Linked DNA regions of Homo sapiens: all the other regions are linked to region 2. The links are contacts of gene promoters, found by promoter capture Hi-C in blood cells and fetal thymus (Javierre and others, 2016). All regions are on one chromosome and are shown on one strand. The core of a region is centred on a gene start or on the middle of the fragment in contact, and the rest is flanking DNA. Distances in the headings are between cores, read along the strand shown. Region 1 overlaps ATAD2B (ATPase family AAA domain containing 2B). Region 2 holds the start of PUM2 (pumilio RNA binding family member 2). Region 3 overlaps CYRIA (CYFIP related Rac1 interactor A). Region 4 has its middle 14 kb from the start of CYRIA.

Region 1 (3,207 bases), core at 221-2,720, 3.6 Mb before region 2:
TATTATTATACTTCTCTTGGAAGTTATCTCATCCTTGGATTGTGTTCTGGTATTTTATGTGCCCCATTATTAAGTTGTTAGAATACATATTCCCACTTCTATAGAAGACTTGAAAACAACATTTATTTATTTATTTATTTATTTATTTATTTTTGAGACACAGTCTTGCTCTGTTGCCCAGACTGGAGTGCAGTGACGTGATTATGGCTCACTGCAACCTCAACTGCTGGGGCTCAGGTGATTCTCCCACTTCAGCCTCCCAAGTAGCTGGGACTGCAGGCATGGACCAGCACACCTGGCTAATTTTTCTATATTTTTGTAGAGACACGGTCTTGCCATTTTGCCCAGGCTGGGCTCGAACTCCTGAGCTCAAACAATCTGCCCACCTCAACCTCTCAGTGTTGAGATTACAGGCATGAGCCACCATGCCCGGCCAAAAACATCCTTTAAAGTCTACATCAAATAGGTTATTTATTTATTTATTTATTTAAAGAGACAGGTCTTGCTGTGTTACTCAGACTGGTTTCAAACTCCTGGCCACAAGGATCCTACCGCCTGGGTCTCCCAAAATGTTGGGATTACAGGTGTGAGCCACTGTGCTTGGCCTCAAGTAGTTCTTATCCATCTTTTTTACCACTGCCTTCCACGTCTTATGTACATAGTAGGTCATCAGTAAATGTTAGTTAACTGAAATTATTTCCCTTATGCCTGAGGTACTTTTCCTACTCATGGATTATAATCACTGTGACACAGATTGCTAAATGGCTGTGGGTAGATTGCATAATCTTTTAAATATCTTTGTCATGAAACTGGTAACGCCTTCTCTCAAAGGGTTAGGTTATCATTAGCTAGTAAAATGCTTTGAGGGAAGATGAAAAAGTTAAGGTTGAGGGTTATGATCATCCTATTAAGGGTGAATTGTTAGCATCAGGTTTGTAGGTAGAAGCTTTCCCAAAGCTTGAAGTTAATTAAATGGTGCTGAAGTAATTATTTTGTACCTGTTTACATCGTGGTTGCTTACTTTACTTAAATCCCTAGATTTCTTTGGAGGGAAGGAGTCTTTGGTAATCCTCTTTATTCTGAGGTCTCTGTCATAGAGCCAAATCAAGATTGAAACCCTCCCGTGACAAAAAAAGTAAATATACCAGTACATTGTAGCAGTTAGGATGATGTGCTTTGTATTATACTTGAAGTATGTTATATGCCAGAGGTCCTCAGACTTTTGTGTACTAAGAATCATTTGGAAGCCCTTGTTAAAAACGTTTCACCTCCAGAGATTCCAGTCCAGCAGGTTGTAATTTTTAATGAGTAATGCAGGTGATTTTTGATTCAGGTAGTATGTAAACAACAGTTTGAGAAATACTTCTGAATGGAATTGAAAGCCAGTAGAATATGCAAATGGCCAATAAATAAATGTGCAAAACTCACTTAAATTGATATTCAAGTAACTATATACTTGGATTATTTTAAAAATTCAAATATTTTACTACTTTTTTTTTTGTCTTCAGTTCAATGGTACATAGTACTTATTTCCAGAGTATGTTTGGGAAACTAGTACCTGCAGATATTCCATGAAAAAAGAGAGCTTGATCAAATAAGTTTGTGAAATGTTACATACTTTATTTCATCCTTAGAGATTTATTTTGCATGTTATCATAATACTCTTAGAAGTTTTGCAGCAAAAAGCCTTGGACCTCATCGTTTCCCAAACTTAATTCACCATGAGCCCTCCTTTCTTGCCCCTAATAATTTATATTAATAATTTGTGAACAAATTTCCAGAAATTTTGTTTGTTGTTTTTCCTTGTTATCATGGAATTTTAAAAAATAGGGTACGTTTTTGTAATTCAGGAGCTTAAAATCTTGCTAGAATTTCAAGACTTGGACATGACACTTTAAAGATGATAAATATATAATGCTAAGTTGAAATAATCAAGTGCCCAAATGTATAGTAGGGCTGCAACTAGTAGCAGGGATAAGCTTAATTTAGGCTAGATTCTTCAGGGAGATTTCATGAAGAAAAAAAAAAAAAGGGTCCTGAGATAGGTCTTGAAGATGAATGATCAAATTTGATTGGAAGGAGTAATGCTGGCCTGGGCTATCTAAATTGGTACAGTAGTTTATAGGTACTAGTTTCTGTATCACAGATACACTCTAGCTTAAAATACATGATGTTGCTTCCTCAGTGACTCCTTTTTTTTCGATAAACAATCATTTTATTACTTGAGTACGTAGACAAACTTATGCAACCAGGGCAGAGGCTGTGGATGACTCATGTTTCCAGTTGGGTGGGAGGATTTGCTTGGTCTTGTATTAATAATATTGAGCCAGTCGGTGAATTCATCTATCAGAATCAGATGGAATTTGGCATCCTTATCCTTTCTGTTCCTCTCAGCATGCTTTCGAATAGCAACTGCTTGCTTAATTAAACAGTAGAGATCCTCAGGGAGATCAGGCGCAAGTCTTTTGGACTTAAGGATTCTTAAGATTGTATTGCCTGTCACAAAAATATACTTGTGCAACACCATATGAGCCTCAGGATCACACTGATTTGTGAGGGAGGCAGACCCTTCTTGGTCAGTTTGTAAGTCTGCTCCTTCATGTCATCAGATGTCAGCTTCAGCCAAGTGGGAACCTTGCAGTGACAGGGCAGAGCCGATTGAGACAGGCCCTTCCCAGGAGTGCACATGCGACTCATGATGGTGGCAGTCAGGCGGTCCAGTGACTACGTCTTGAATATGTTATATAATAATGCTTTTCAAACTCTAATGTGCACATGAATCACCTGGGGATCTTTTAAAAATGGTTTCTGATTCAGTGGATCTGAGGGTGGAGCCTGAGATTCTACATTTCTAATGAGCTTCCAAATAGATCATGCCCATGTTGTTGGTTCACAGACCAGAATTGGAGTAAAGAATGTCTTGGATTAGTAATTCAGTTAGATGACCTTTAATGCACACTTTAACCTTGGGAGTCTGTAAATATACCAGGTTGGAGTGGATGAGCTAGTATAAAGAAAACTAAAGCTGGGCGTGGTGGCTCATGCTTGTAATCCCGGCGCTTTGTGGGGCCGAGGTGGGAGGATCTCTTTAGGTCAGGAGTTTGAGAACAGCCTGGCAATGAGACTCTGTCTCAAATAAAATAAAATAATAAAAATATAAAATAAAAAGTAAGAGGCCAGGCGTGGTGGCTCATGCTTCTAATCCCA
Region 2 (3,218 bases), core at 715-3,214:
ACTCCAAGGGTAGAGGCAGCCAGCCAGGCACAGAAACATGTGAAAGAGAGACATTGTCAGCACTCTCCTTTTCTCTCTCAACTCCACTCTTTCTCTACAGGTTCCCTGTCTTACAGGATGGAACCAGTCTGCCCAAGGGATCCCAGGTCCAAGAGACTTTCGAGGTTGGGGTCTCTTAGTCCCAATTCCATATTCTAAGGGAGGGCCTGTGATGGATTTATCTAGTTTCACCCACACTAAGCAACTGTATATAAAGACTCTTCTGCTATTATCAGCTCAACGGAGGGGAAAGGAGAAGGAAGGCAAAATGTGTACACCCCAGCATCTCCCATTCTTACTTGATCGTGAGACATTTCTTAAAGGAACATCTATTAACACTGAACACAGCACACTAGGGAAATGCTGTCGTGGGTGATGGGGAGCAATGAGATGGTTGAAGCAGAGGCCTGAGCGCCAGGAATTGGATTTGCATTTTAGATAGCAGTGAGCAGAACTGATTGGAGGGAGTGAGACTGGAGACAGGAAAGCTGATTAAGAGCCAGCTACAGAAATCCAGACCTGGGAAGCAAGGCTAGCATTAGTGAGGAGGCAGAGGAAGACTGTCTCCAGAATTACTTGGGAAGTAAAAATCTGCGAGGCTTGGTAAGTTATTTATATTTGGAGTCGGGGTAAGAGGAAGAGACAAGGATGGTTCTCAGAGGTGTAATTTGGGGAATGAATAGGTGGTGACACTGCCAATTACAGAGACAGTACAAGAGTGGGGGGTAGGGGATGGGTGTGACTTCAGTTTTTAACATGCTTGGTGACAAGAAAATTCAAGTGAAAATATCTAGAAGCCTGAAATATGAGCCTAAGGTAGGGGCTTGGGATGGATTTCAATGTCAGACATTTTTCAGTAATAGTTAAAAACCGAAGAGCCCATGTGTATTCAACAGGCACTTGCGGGCACAGTGTGAAACAAAACACAAGGTCCTTGCCCTCGTGGAGCTCACAGTCGCCTAGGGAAGACATATATTAAGCAAACTATACGGGAGGCCCTGAATATTTACGAAGTGCAGCATGTCAGGAGAGCCAGGAGCTGTGCAAACAAACCATCAAGAACAAATCGGACACGGTGCCTGTTACAGCTGTGTGACCTGGAGCCGGTTAGGTTAGAATCCTGGAATCACCACTGCTTTGCATGGGGGTCCAGGACAGCAAGGCAGATTTGGAGTTTCCAACTAGCCTGTAAACGGGGAAGGAGAGAGCGCTTAGTACGCGAGAAAAAGAAACAGCCAACGAGTGAGAATCACTGGCCCAGCTGGAGAACGACCTGAGTTTCCTTTGTGTGCACCGGGACCAAGCACTGGGGGCCGACAATTTGCTGAGAGCTGGCTCCACCTGCCTGGGGTGCAACCACGAGAAGAGTGACAGCCCTCTCGCAGGGTACAATCTTCCACCCCCAGATGCATCTCCCTCGTCTGGTTGTGGGGAGGTACAGAGTGAAAGTTAAAGGCCTGAATTAACGTCCGGCTCTTGTGGGCGCCAGCACTCTGGAAGCGAAATGCCAGGAGTACCCCACGGTGGGCGGCGCGGGCGCAGACACCCGCACACCCAGTTGGGGGAAAACAGTGAGCAACCGGGTAGGAAGCCGAGGGTAAGAAGATTCAGAAGGCGAGGCCCCACGCGGGAAGACAGTCGAACACAGCGTTTGGCAACAGTACGCCTGCGCTCTCCGAGCCCGCCGCGGCGGAGCCCAGGAGGGAAGCGCGAGCCCGCAAGGTGAGGGCGGGGGAGGGCACGCCGGAGAGGCGGCCAAACACGTGAGAGCGCGGAGAACGTGCGCACGCGCAGGGCGCCCCCGGCCCGCGCGGCGGCAGCGCGGGAGCAGGGACGCAAGGCATTAAAAGGAGCCGCGCCTTGGTGAGCGCTCCCCCTCCCCTTTCTCCCGGGGTGCACTGCGCGCGCCCGGTGGGCGGGGGGGAGGGGAGGGCAGGCGGCGGTGGCAGCCATGTTGTTGTGAGTCTCTGTGTCTCACCCTCGGTACTTCGGTGGTTCGGAGGAGGAGGGGGAGGAGAAGGAGGAGGTGGGGTGGGGGGGGAGGGTGGTAGGTGGAGAAAGAAGACATTGCCGCCACCGAAGGCGGAGGAGGGGGAGGACCGCCAAGAGCGACGCCGCCGTGTGCCCAACGGTCGGTGTCCCCGGCTGAGGCAGCGCGGCCGCAGCAGCCCTGTAAGTCAGTCCGCGTTCGCTCTTTCTCCGGTCCTTTGGCGCCGTCGAGGATGGCTCCCCAGGCTTTGTGCGGCGGCCTCGGCGGGAGCCGATCGCCAGCGGGAGGGCGGATAGGGCCTGCTGAGTGCCCGGGCCGGTGCGGCCTGGGGCCCGCTCGCACAATGCAGGGGGAGGGGTGCCGGAAGGGGGTGTGCGCGTGCGGGGGAGGGGGCGCCGCGCCGGCCGCTTTCCCGCTTCCTTCCCTCTGCGGGGCCGCCGCCTCGGGGGCGTGGGGCGCCGACCCGGTTCTCCCTCCGATTCGGCGCGCTGGAGGTTAGAGACCGAGCTGTCGGCCCTAGGGTTCGGAAAGAGGGGAGAGGCCGGGTGGCCCCAGAGAAGCATGCGGATTGCAAGTGGGTGAAGAGGAAGGAGTGGGTTTATGAAAACAAGTGTGGGCATTTTCAAAGGCCCGAGTGTGTCCGGGAAAAGCTTGCCGTGGACAGATGTGGGTATGAAGCAGTGACTTGGATTCGCCTTGTTTAGGTTATAGGAACGGATTTCGATATTCAGAAAAATATGTAAATTAAAACCAAAGACAAGATTAGCGGCTTCTACTATTTGAGCAGTAGTTTTGTATCTGAATTGGGTCAGGTTTTGGGGAAAATGTTTAAAGTTTCATGCCCAAACACGTGTAAAAGTTAGTGTTGTTTCTGAAAACACAGCCAGAGAAAACCTACTTAACTTAGCTTTTTATTCTAACATACGTAAACTTTTGAAGAGAGGAATGTATTGCCAGCATATTAGGTGCAATAAGACATCATGTTAGGACTTAGTACTTTGAGATTTTTACTTGTTGAGAAAACGGGGCAGATGTTTTGGTGAAGGAAAACATGAGAAAAATGCTTGTAAACGGTGAAGAGAAATGTAATACCTGTAAAGGTACTGTATGTCAAGAAAACAATTTTAATAAAGGGAGTTACCGAAGGATTTTAAAAGCTTGTTTAATGGTTAGATTTCGTGTTTAACAG
Region 3 (3,182 bases), core at 544-3,043, 3.7 Mb after region 2:
TAAGGAAAGGATAAGGTGCCAGGAGAAAGCTGGAAGTGAAAGCTGTGGAGAGGAGAGTGTTAATTGGAGTCCAGAGGAAGAGGGCTTCTTCAGAATCCCCGGGGATTAACTGCTCATCCGATCCCTGCTGGGGACTGGTGTTTATAAAAACTGACCGAAGGCTGGAACAGGGAAGCTCTCGAGAAACCCTCAAAGTGTGTCAGGATTTCAGCCAAGACTTTCCACTCTCCACTTTGCTGACGCAGAGGGTGGCAGGGGGTAGCAGGGGGAGTCTGTGGGACCCGGAAGACTTCATCTCTGGAGACCTTTCCAGAAGGAAAAGAACCTCCCCTGGCAGGGCCTTTCCCTTTACAGAGCAAAATGCTCATCTCAGAGGAGCTTGAATTTCTTCAAATGCAGGGAAAAATCCTAGCAAATATAATAGGGTATACGGCAAGGGGAGAGAGGATGGCTAAGAAAAGCATTTGGCCCCAGTGAGGCTCAGGGACCTCTGGAGGCTGCCAGCTCCCACCTCGTATCCTCTGCCCATCTGAATCCTGCTCCTCAGGACAAAAAGTGGCTTATAGCAACTTGTAGCAACTTAGAGCAGGTGGGACAAGTAGCTCATAGGGTTAGAGTGTGAGGGGGGTAGGTAAGAGCTCACTGAAGACGGAAGCTAGAGGACATCCTGAAGCTGTGGGAAGATGTTAGGGAATTTTCACAAAGGAATGATAGAAATGGATTTCCAACCAGAAGTATGTGTGGGTGTCAAAGGATGGACCCCATAGTTACAAAGTTGTGGAGTGTTCATTAACGAGAGCTGGGGAGGGAAGATTGCTTTCAGCTGCTGGATCAGGTAGTAGGTTTGCTTAAAAATATTAAAAAGGGAAAAAGCAAAGACTTGCCTTTTCCTTATTCAAAAACTGTTTTTTGAGAACTGACTGTGCTTAGGTGCTGGGGTTGTTCTGACAGATAAACCCCTTCCTCATGGAACCCATTCCAAGCAGCCTCCTTGAAGAACCTTATCTGAAGGTACTTGACATAAGATGACTGGAATTTCCTGCATTCAACTGCATATTACAAGTTTTTAAAATGGGGAAATTAAAAAAAAAATTCACGGCACCTGATATTAAAATAATAAAAAGTTAATTCTTGGTCTGCCAATGACCTGCTCAAAGTGAGTGGACAGCCTCCCTGGGTCTTCATCTCCTCATCCTCCAGTGGAGCTAATCTTCCTTCCTGCCTCCTTTTCAGGAATATTTTGAAGACAACAAGCTTTGAAAACAAGTTGAAAGCTCTGTATAAATTGCAGGGCGTGACTCACATGCCTGTGCGGGACCCATGTTCACAAGGTGCTACCTGGTGAGAGGTTTTGGATGAAGGATAGAGTCTGTTCACAGATCAATTTTTATCAACTTTACTTCTCCAGGTTTGTCTGCAACTGTTTAGGGATTTTTTCCAGCTGTCAGAAATACTTTTCCTGATTTTATATTAGTATTTGGCTTCTGCACTGCAGTGCGGTGCTTTACAAACATGCACACGTATATGTTTACCTAATTTTTCTAGGATGATAATTTAATGTAGTTGATATGACAGTATAAGAAGGCAAAGGCCAGGATTGTTGCTCCAGGTACGAGGAGGCTTGAAAACAGCATCTGTGGGTATACAGGAGTGGGAGGTGTTAGAAGTCAGCCTAGCTTGGGTCAGGGTAGGAAACCAAAGGTGTGAATTGTCATGAAAAGCCACATGCAAGGTGCCAACCCTCCCAGACCCCCCAGAAATAGCTGTTGAAAATTGGGCTTTCTGGTAAAAAGATCAGCTGCTGCAGAACGCCTTCCATACATGTCAGCAAGTGGGGCCGGATAGCATAGAGCGAGCCTGAAATGCGTCTAAATAAATGATTATGGTGACTCACTCGCCCCCGTTGAATGGAATGTTTTTTTAAAGTGAAAGTAAGAGAGAAAGAAGATAATAAAGCAAAGAAAAAGAACAATAAGGTTTGAATTTAAAACAACAGGAGCAAAAAATTGAATTAGTCACTCATGTCAAAGCCTGTGAGCCTCTGTCCTGAATTGCTACCTTCCTCCTTGACTTGCCTTAAGGTCACGGTCTTTCTGTTTGAATTTCCTGGTGAAATAACACACCCTCTGATTGTTGCCATTCCCGGTGCCGGTTGCAGGCATGTAATGGGCATTCTGAGATACTTGTCACAGAGCCACTACAGAGCTTGTCTGTTGAGCTCAGAAGGCCTTTCCATGGCCAGAGAGGAGCATCCAGTCTCTCTGAGATGTTTAGGGTTGCTTTGTGGAGCCTCTGAGTGTGAGAGCTGGGGCTGCCAGCCCATGAAGCTTAACGGAGAAGGTTCTGCATTTGTTCTATTGTAGGCCTCTTGGTCTGTTGTTGCATCATCCCTGATATCAGGAACTGGCCCAGAGACCAATGAAACCTTTATGATTTGCTAGTGTTTTAATCGATCTGCAGTTTGCAGAGATTTTTATATTGAAGTGAGTCAGTCTTGTTTTATACTATATACTCATTCAGCTGAGTATATAGCTTTGCTCCTCTTTTTGGTTGATTTCTGGGCCATTGCTTAACCACTCTTACGTCTTAGGGATGTCATCCATAAAATTGACATAATTTCGTCTCAGCAGACCCCAACATAATACCTGTGAATATAAAATTATTTAATCTGGAAAAATGTGGAGTATGTCACTTTTGCTGCAGTCAGAAATAACCCCCAAATCTCAGTGGCTGATGGCGACGACTGTCTTGCTGTGCCACGTGTCAGGGGCTGCAGGTTGGCTTCTGTGGCACTGGTGTACATTTCTTCTCATTCTGGAACCTGGGCTGAGGGGGTGTGTGCTTCTTGGAATGTGTCATGCTCATGACAGAAGCGATCGAGCAAGGTGGCAGAAACTTGAGACTCTTGTTGAAACTTCTACTGGGATGTGGCTTTCTTTATTCTATTTTCACTCCATTTGGTAAACAAGGCAAATGTCCAAGTCCTATACCAATTGTAACCTCCTCCCAGGGAGGGGAAGTGGTACATCCAAGTCATCTGGCAACCAGCAGGATGGTACTGTACAACCGTGCTCTGTACTGTATAACTGTCCCCTGTACTGTATAACCATGCCCTGTACTGTACAACCGTGCCCTGTGCTGTATAGCCATCCCCTGTACTGTACAACTGTGTCCTGTACTGT
Region 4 (3,102 bases), core at 510-3,009, 3.7 Mb after region 2:
CTGGCCCCCCGTAGTGTCCACCTCTAGTCTTATTGCTGTCCTCTGGGGCCACAGGGGACTTTGCACAACTACTCTCATGGGTTTCTGGAAACTTCTCTTCCTCAGGGTCAGTGCCTCCCAGGCTTTTATACATGCCATCATCCAACCTGGATTACTTTTTCTACGGTTCATATTCAGCCTTTCTTTCTAGATACATTTTTCTGTACCTCCCTTTGGAAGCCATATCTGATAACCTGTCTTCAACTTCTGCTTAATTCTGCAGCAGTTTAGCAAAGTTGACCAGAAGTCTTTCTACCATTTCCATGGGCTTGTTTTTCTCAAACAGAGCTTCTGGAAGGCAGGGACTCATGTTTGTTTTATTGCCCATATGTAAAGAAACCACACTGGAATTTTTCTTCAGCGACTGCCTTCTGACTTCCTAATTGTGTCTAACGTCGTATGAGGAAAGTGAAGCCCATGGAGGTTGCTGAGTCCCAAGTTCCTTCGGCTGAGTGCTATCAAAGCAGGACTGAAACCCAGGTCTCCTGACTCCCATTCCAGTGCTGATTTTTTTCCCAAATATGTCCCCTTGGCCTATAGAATTTTAATACAACAATTCTTTCGTGAATTACTTGCCTATTCAGGTGTCTGTATGTCCTCTGATTAACATGATCACTCTTGTCTATCTTAAATAACATCAACAAATTCATGCATAATCTCTAATTGAGCCTTTTTTAAGCCTTTGTAAAGAACTATGTACAGACCATAAATGCTTTTTTGATGATAATAGTGATTTTTACCAAAAGCCTTCATTTAGGATAAGTGTGCAACTGCAGGAAGCAAGGCTACTGTTCCTACTCACATTCCCACGTTCACTACAAGCAACTTCAAAGAAACTCTGCAGATGAAGCAATGCCACTATATTGCAATTTAAGCTTTCTTCAGTCATTTCTCTGCAACCACACTCAAATTTTCAATTCCTCAAATAGAAAATGAACTGAATAGACATTAACAAAGTAATCTCTCTACTTCTTTGAAAATTGCAAACTAGCTGAATTTTTCTCTTATGGTTGATAATAGCCATGAAGAAACCAATCATAACTCCTTCTCTTCTGCCTCCCAAATACATCATTTGAAAAAACTTCCTTTATTGGGTAATAAAACGAGAGGAAAAATCATATTAGAGACTAATGAACTCATATAGTGTTATTTTCATCACTTAGTAACCTCAGGATATGAATAATTTTCTTAAACGAATTTTTTAAATGTGGACTAAGGAATCCAAATCCTTAAAAGCCTGAAGTTGTCAAAGTAGAGTGATAACTTTTTTCAAGTTTATAAATTTTGAGACAGAAAAACAGTCTTTTACAGCTTTAGCTGTCTTTAACTTCAATCGCATATTCTAGCTAAAGTCATTAAGCCCAAGCACTGACCTAGATTGAGAAAAAGAGGACATCAATTCTAAAGACATGAACATTTGGGACAATAATTGTAGCCACAGCTCAAAGAGGAGACATCCTGTTTTCCTGTAGGGATGGACAGAGAACTTCACAAAGCACACACTACCGGCTGAGGCAGTACCTAGGAATCAAACTGGGCACCACTCAAAGCAGGCATTAGCTGGGCTGATCCTGGAGAGTTTGTCACAGCCTTTAGTGACTTCAGAAGTGAAAGGAGAGAAGATGCAGTGGAAGGGTTAGTTGTGTAACCAGGAAGGGTTGGCACTTTGCTAAATATGTGGAATTATTTGAGAGTCAAAAATAAGCCAGCTTCACCCCCGTGTTTCCTGTGCACTTACCTACAAAGTGTCTGGCCTGCCTGCAGAAGAATCTTCCTTTCTACTAAGGTTTTGTGTGTTCCTTTCAGAATATATACGTCCTTATGTCCTCTGAAAAGTAATTCAAACTGAGCTGATGTGGAAAACACTCCCCTTACTCAAAACACTGTAGACATGCCGTCTTAAAAATGGAAAAAGTAATCAGCTAGGAATTGTAAATCCATAGCCTAATTTGAGACCAAGAAAGGAAAATTCCACATTGAGAAAAAAATTAGAGGGGATCTCAAAATGGTAAGTGAGATTTAAAACTGAAAAGTGTTACAGGGAAATTGGAACCTGGTACAGGCCTTAACAGCTGGCACTAAGGATTAATGCCACCCAGAGAGGGGAATTCAGCCAGGAGCCCCATGTGTGTGGGCAGCTGAAACTGAGTGATCTGAATTGATTCTGCAGCCACTGGTATTGTTGTTTGTAAAAAAATCACTGCCCACCAGCTGGGCGCAGTGACTCACACCTGTAATCCCAGCACTTTGGGAGGCTGAGGTGAGTGGATCACTCAAGGCCAGGAGTTAGAGACCAGACTTCCAACATGGTGAAACCTCGTCTCTAATTAAAAAAAAAAATAGCTGAGTATGGTGGTATGCGCCTGTAATCACAGCTACTCGGAAGGCTGAGGCAGGAGAATTACCTGAACCGAGGAGACAGAGGTTGCAGTGAGTCAAGATTGTGCCACTGTACTCCAGCCTGGGTGACAGACAGAGTGAGACTCTGTCTCAAAAAGAAAAAAAAAATGGAAAGAAGTAGAAAATCACTGTCCATCTAACCCAAGAAAGCTGTAATGAAGCTTCTTATCCACCTAGGTCAGGGAATAAAAATAAACACACCTGCAAAAAATCAAAACACAGGAAGGGTTCCAAATCTAAGCTAGTTGAGTTTTCCAGGACACCAAAGAAATAAATTAACATAAAGATTAGTCCAGTACACTTAAGCTCATAAAGCATCAGTGATGCAAATGAGAAACTGTCACCCAAAGCAAATCACATGGGTTTCTAATAGAAAATATCCTCATAGCCAAAATTATAAACCATATAAGAAAATGGATGACACAGAAGAACAATTAAGAGAAACAATAAATAATCCTGGAGATTGCAAAAACTTAAATAAAAGTAAAAGTAATTCAAATCAGTAGCTTCAATTAGGGTTTCTCTTAGGATTTCAAGAATAATTCAGCAGCAGAAATGCTACCAGTATATTTTATCACATTAAACAAATTAAAGGAGAAAAGCCATAGGAAATATAGAGAAAATGTTAGATAAAATTTGCCATCATCTGTGATAAGGACCCTT

What was found. Contacts are between HindIII fragments. The CHiCAGO score rates a contact against its expected background, and 5 or more counts as called.
Region 1: a fragment that was not itself captured here is called in contact with the fragment with the promoter of PUM2 in region 2 in 1 of 17 cell types (M0 macrophages); the score reaches 5.0 in M0 macrophages.
Region 3: a fragment that was not itself captured here is called in contact with the fragment with the promoter of PUM2 in region 2 in 1 of 17 cell types (M0 macrophages); the score reaches 5.1 in M0 macrophages.
Region 4: a contact is called between a fragment that was not itself captured here and the fragment with the promoter of PUM2 in region 2, in 1 of 17 cell types (M0 macrophages). The highest score is 7.4, in M0 macrophages.

Annotation. Positions count from the first base shown.
Region 1 is chr2:23,900,183-23,903,389 of GRCh38, reverse strand. The region is part of intron 1 of ATAD2B (ATPase family AAA domain containing 2B); the gene reads left to right. It also overlaps the pseudogene RPS13P4. Among named protein-coding and RNA genes, the nearest start is that of ATAD2B, 25 kb to the left of the region's middle. The HindIII fragment of the contact is 1,022 bases long and covers 960-1,981 here.
Region 2 is chr2:20,349,590-20,352,807 of GRCh38, reverse strand. PUM2 (pumilio RNA binding family member 2) reads left to right here and starts at 1,964. Exons shown (of 21, transcript NM_015317.5): 1 at 1,964-2,211. RefSeq lists enhancers at 605-1,234, 1,442-1,531, 1,235-1,866, 1,867-2,496 and a silencer at 1,692-2,581. The HindIII fragment of the contact is 4,637 bases long and covers 1-2,681 here.
Region 3 is chr2:16,649,694-16,652,875 of GRCh38, reverse strand. All of the region lies in intron 1 of CYRIA (CYFIP related Rac1 interactor A), which reads left to right. Among named protein-coding and RNA genes, the nearest start is that of CYRIA, 15 kb to the left of the region's middle. RefSeq lists enhancers at 2,771-2,920, 2,961-3,010. The HindIII fragment of the contact is 1,073 bases long and covers 1,257-2,329 here.
Region 4 is chr2:16,678,312-16,681,413 of GRCh38, reverse strand. No RefSeq gene overlaps it. Among named protein-coding and RNA genes, the nearest start is that of CYRIA, 14 kb to the right of the region's middle. The HindIII fragment of the contact is 1,686 bases long and covers 917-2,602 here.